2 separate regions of the Homo sapiens genome follow, and region 1 is linked to region 2. Evidence: promoter capture Hi-C in 16 types of primary human blood cells and fetal thymus (Javierre and others, 2016). All regions are on one chromosome and are shown on one strand. The core of a region is centred on a gene start or on the middle of the fragment in contact, and the rest is flanking DNA. Distances in the headings are between cores, read along the strand shown. Region 1 has its middle 31 kb from the start of LINC02902. Region 2 holds the start of IKZF1 (IKAROS family zinc finger 1).

Region 1 (2,915 bases), core at 88-2,587, 2.6 Mb before region 2:
CACTCCAGCCTGGGCAAGAGAGTGAGACCTTGTCTTTAAAAAAAAAAAAATTAATACACTTTATTTTCTATAACAGTTTTAGTTTTACAGAAAAATTGAGCAGATGGTACAGAAAGTTCCCATATTGCTCCTGCCCAACAGCTGCCTTTTTATCAACACCCTCCACCAGAGTGAGGCTTTCGTTATAACTGACGGATCTGCACTGACCCATCCTTAACACTCAAGGTCCATGGTTTACTTTAGGGTCTGTTCTTGGTGTTGTATATTCTATTGGTTTTAACAAATGTGTAATGTCATGCACTCACCATTAGAGTATATCATACGGTAGTTTCACTGCCCTAAAAGTCCCCTCTGCGCCACCTATTTATCCCTCCCCCAAACCCCTAATCTTTTTATTGTCTTCATAGTTTTGCCTTTTCCAAAACGTCACAGAGCTGGAATCATACAGTATGTAGCCTGTTCAGATGGACTTCTTTCACTCTGCAGTATGCATCTGGGGTTCCTCTGTGTCTCTTCTTGGCTTGATAGTTTCTTTCCTTTTAGCGCTGAATAATATTTTATTGTCTAGATGGACTATAGTTTATGTATCCATTCACTTACTGAAGGACATCTTGGCTGCTTCCAAATTTTGGCAATTATAGATAAAACTGCTGTAAACATCTGTGTACAGGTTTTTAGGTTTTCAGCTCTTTTGGGTAAATGCCAAGAAGCTCAATTGCTAGATCGCATGACAAGAATATGCTTAGTTTTGTAAGAAATCACCTTAGAAACTGCCTATCCATGAAATTGCAAAGAAGGTAAAAGAAGTTTGTGCTAGCTTTGCTGTTGTGCTTCAGACTGCAACAGTTGCAGCCACAGTGTGTGATATATTAAGATTGGAAAGGCATCACATTTGCCCGTGGAAGACTTAAACAGAAACTTGTTACAATTTTTTTTTTTTTTTTTTTTGGTGGGGGACAGAGTCTCACTCTGTTACCCAGGCTGGAGTACAGTGGTGCAATCTCAGCTCACTGCAATCTCTGCCTCTCCGGTTCAAGTGATTCTCCTGCCTCAGCCTCCCCAGTAGCAGAGATTACAGGCACATGCCACCACATCTGGCTAATTTTTGTATTTTTAGTGGAGACAGGGTTTTGCTACGTTGACCAGGCTGGTCTTGAACTCCTGACCTCAAGTCATCTGCCTGCCTTGGCCTCCCAAAGTGCTGGGATTACAGGGGTGAGCCACCTCACCCAGCTAACATGTTACAATTAACAGCAATTCCGTTTGGTATCATCTGTAGTTTCAGGATGGGGGGAGGGGGGCTTGGATAAGAGCTTGGATAAGACTGTCAATGCCAGGAGACATAGTCGTGTGTCCCTTAATGATAAGGATATGTTCCGAGAAGTGCATTGTTAGATGATTTCATCATTGCGTATATGTCAGAGTGGACTTATACAAAACTAGATGGACTAGCCTACAACACACTCATGCTGTATGGTATGGCCTATTGCTCCTAGGCTACACACCTGTGCAGCCTGTACTATACTGAATACTGAAGGCAACTGTAACACAATGGGAAGTATTTGTGCATCTAAATATATCTGAACATAGAAAAGCTGCAGTAAAAATATAGCATACAAGATAAAAAATGGTACATCTGTGTAGGGCACTTCCCAGGAATGGAGCTTGCAGGACTGGAAGTTGCTCTTGGTGAGTCAATGAGTAGGTGGTGAGTGAATGTGAAGGCCTAGGCCATTACTATGCACTACTACACACTTTATAAACACTTAGGCTACACTAAACTCATTAAAAAATACTTTTCTTTCTTTAATAATAAATTAAGCTCAGTTTACTGTAACCTTTTTACTTCATAAACTTTTTGATTTTTTAAACTTTTTTTTTTTTGAGATGAAGTCTCATTCTGTCTCCCAGGCTGGAGTGCAGTGGGGCAATCTCAACTCACTGCAGCCTGTGCCTCGTGGGCTCAAGGGATTCTCCTGCTGGGATTATAGGCACTCGCCACCATGCCTGGCTTTTTTTTTTTTTTTTTTTTTTTCTGAGACGGAGTCTCCCTCTGTCGCCCAGGCTGGAGTGCAGTGGCACGATCTCGGCTCACTGCAACCTCTACCCTCCGAGTTCAAGCGATTCTCCTGCCTCAGCCTCCTGAGTTGCTGGGATTACAGGCGCCTGCCACCTCGCCTGGCTAATTTTTTTGTATTTTTAGTAGAGACAGTGTTTCACCATCTCAGCCAGGCTGGTCTTGAACTCCTGACTTTGTGATCCACCTGCCTCTGCCTCCCAAAGTGCTGGGATCACAGGCATGAGTGACTGCACCCGGCCAATTTTTGTATTTTTAGTAGAGACAGGGTTTCACCATGGCCAGGCTGGTCTTGAACTCCTGACCTCAAGTGATCCACCCGCCTCGGCCTTCTAAAGTGCTGGGATTGCAGGTGTGAGCCACCACACCTGGCCTGGTTTTTTAAACGTTTTGATGCTTTTGTAATAACACTTAGCCCAAGACACAAACACATTGCATAGCTGTACAAAAATATTTTTTTCTTTATATCCTTATTCTGTAAGTTTTTTTTTCTATTTCTGTTTCTAGTTATTTACTTATTTATTTTTTACTTTCTAAAGTTTTATGTTAAAAATGAAGACAAAAACACACATATTAGCCTGGGCCTACACAGGGTAAGGAGCATCAATGTCACGGTCCTTTACCTCCACGTCTTGTCCCACAGGAAGGTCTTCAGGGACTAACACACATGGAGCTGTCGTTTCCTGCAATAGCAGTGTCTCCTTCGATACCTCCTGAAGGGCCTACCTGAGCCTGCTTTGCAGTTAACTTCTTTTTTGCATAAGTAAGACTACACTCTAAAGTTATTATAAAAGTATAGCATAGGGCCAGGTGTGGTGGCTCACACCTGTAATCCCAG
Region 2 (2,810 bases), core at 60-2,559:
GCTGCGGGATTGCTTCGCTGTCACCTCCGCCTGCAGCCACCCTTCCGCACGCACTTGTGTGTGCACCCAGGCCAACATGGAAGGCGCCATCCTAACTTCTGCCGTGAGCAGGTGGGAGGGAAGAGAGACGAGAGGTATTCCATTGGTTGTCTGGGAAAATGAATTGCACCTTCCCCTCCCTTGCGGAGGATCAACTTTTCCCACCCCCTCGGGTGGGCACTCGCATCCTGGGGCCGGAGCCTGAACCCGGGAGCCAAGGGGCCCCAGTTCCAGGGACGTGAAGCTGAGCGTACAGCGGGCGCTCCCAGACACTGGGGAAAGTGCTTTACGATGTCCCGAGTCCCTCCAGTCTCGCCAGCGGGGCGAGCGTGAGGGTGCCCCGACCGACCAGCGGCCCCGGGTGCAGGGTGGCGGGCCCGGCGGCGCGCGTCCCCCTCCCCCTCCTGGCGGCCCGCACGTGTCGCCCGCGCCGCGCCCCCACGGGTTACGCGCGGGTCCCGCAGCGCCGCGGCCGAGCCGGGCTGCCCGGCCCGCGGACACAGCGCCGGCCGCCGCATCCCGTGCGGGGCCGCGGCGCGATGCTGCGCTGGAATGAGGAAGCGCGGCGGCGAGGGGAGGGCCCGGGCGCGGTGCGCGCGGGGGTGGCGGCGGCGCGCCGAGCGGGCCCGGCGCGGGCGAGCGGGCTGCAGCCGGCGGCGGCGCCAGCAGGTACGGCCCGCACCCGCCGCCGCCCCGGCGGCCTTTGGGGGCTGAGCCGGAGCCCGGCGCGATTGCAAAGTTTTCGTGCGCGGCCCCTCTGGCCCGGAGTTGCGGCTGAGACGCGCGCCGCGCGAGCCGGGGGACTCGGCGACGGGGCGGGGACGGGACGACGCACCCTCTCCGTGTCCCGCTCTGCGCCCTTCTGCGCGCCCCGCTCCCTGTACCGGAGCAGCGATCCGGGAGGCGGCCGAGAGGTGCGCGCGGGGCCGAGCCGGCTGCGGGGCAGGTCGAGCAGGGACCGCCAGCGTGCGTCACCCCAAAGTTTGCGGGGTGGCAGGGCGCGCGCTCTGGCCACCCGCCGCTCTGGGCGGCAGCTGGTGGCAACGCAAGGGCGCGGCGGGGGCGGCCGGCGCGGAGGGGGCCAGGTACGGGGCCCGCGGGCGGCGCTGTGCGCGCGGGGCAGCCGGTCGGCCGGGAGCGCGAAAGCCTGGTCTGAGCCGGCTGGGGGCGGGGAGTGTGGCGGAGAAATGGGGAACAATGCGAGTGAGCAACTTCAGGAAGTCATTGTGAAAGAAAGCTGGGAAGAGCTCCGCGGCCAAGTTAGCAGGACACTCTAACAAGTGACTGCGCGGCCCGCGCCCGGGGCGGTGACTGCGGCAAGCCCCCTGGGTCCCCGCGCGGCGCATCCCAGCCTGGGCGGGACGCTCGGCCGCGGCGAGGCGGGCAAGCCTGGCAGGGCAGAGGGAGCCCCGGCTCCGAGGTTGCTCTTCGCACCCGAGGATCAGTCTTGGCCCCAAAGCGCGACGCACAAATCCACGTGAGTGTTTTCAAATTGAATTTCAATAGGAAAACTTGGGGTAACTGGTGAATTTAAAAAAAAAAAAACACAGTAAAGAAAAGCGGTAAGGTTGGTAGACCCTGGTGTCGCTCAGGTCCGCCTCTCTTTTCTGAGGACAGTGAGAGAGTTCACTTCTGTCAAGCGTCTGTTGCTCTGCACTGTGCCAGCAGGTGCAGGACCAGGCCGACATGGGACACTTCTGAGCAGCCCCGCTGTCACCAGGAGAGGAGTTCTAGCTCCCAACCATATTTAAATTTATGTAGACCTACATATACCCACGGAAGTCAGCCTTTATAAAGTCGTGTGTAAAGAGTTTTCCTTATATTTGAGCCGGGAGCTTTCTTTTTATACTATAAATATGATGAGATCGAGTCTGAACTTAATTTCTGCAAGAGAGGAATTATCCCGGCTTTGAAAAGTTAGTCCTTTTGCTGACCGCAGGTTTGACGCTCAAGTCACCAAACCTTCTCAGGAAAACCCTTAGTAATATTAAGGCATCAGGTTACTTGCGGTTATATTTGAAATGTATTTTAAATATTTGTCAAGCATCGCTGCTGATGCCTAAGGAACCTCGTGAGGGCTTGTTTTTCCTTCTAATTTGGAGGCATCTAATGACCGAAAACCGTAGCGATTCCATAGGGTCTGACCAGGCACAGCTTTCAAATGCAGCTTCCCTCTCTCTAGGGACTGCAGCCCACCCAGACTGAATTTCAATGCGGTGCGCTTTGCTTAGGTTACCCACTCACAATTTCCCACTGCGCCGCAGGCAGTATATTTCAGCTTTGAGATACCTTGTTTTAAAATTCCAGACAAAATGGTGTTGAGGAAATGTCTCCTTACTAGTCCCATCAACTTCTGTTAAAAGAGGAAAATTTATGGAATTTGAAAATACTGCGTATGATATTTAAACTTTCATAGACATTCAAATGCTTTTAAGGCCAGGTTCAATTTGGTTATGAGTCGAGGGGTGGGGGGGACCCACATAGAAATGTCCTGGGTCCTCTTGAGTTTATTTCTTTGTTTGAAGATGTTTGTTCAATGAGTTTTATTGTACTCATCTTTTATATGGAATTTTAAAAAGTAACAATTTCAGTATTATTTATATTAGAATGTGTCAGAATTATTTCCGTGACAAATCAGATCATTTGGGCTATGGCTTAAAATGTACACGAGGCAAATATTCATGACAAGAAGATTCACCTTCTTACGCTGGCATCTTGTAAAATGCAGAACAAGTTAAAGAAATAATGTGTACACATACAAATAATGATGT

What was found. The method cuts DNA at HindIII sites, captures the fragments that hold promoters and counts their contacts. A CHiCAGO score of 5 or more calls a contact.
Region 1: a fragment that was not itself captured here is called in contact with the fragment with the promoter of IKZF1 in region 2 in 1 of 17 cell types (total B cells); the score reaches 5.8 in total B cells.

The regions. Positions count from the first base shown.
Region 1 is chr7:47,684,626-47,687,540 of GRCh38, forward strand. No RefSeq gene overlaps it. Among named protein-coding and RNA genes, the nearest start is that of LINC02902, 31 kb to the left of the region's middle. The HindIII fragment of the contact is 4,190 bases long and covers 1-2,915 here.
Region 2 is chr7:50,303,407-50,306,216 of GRCh38, forward strand. It overlaps IKZF1 (IKAROS family zinc finger 1), which reads left to right and starts at 1,310. Exons shown (of 8, transcript NM_006060.6): 1 at 1,310-1,516. RefSeq lists a silencer at 623-1,422. The HindIII fragment of the contact is 6,071 bases long and covers 1-2,810 here.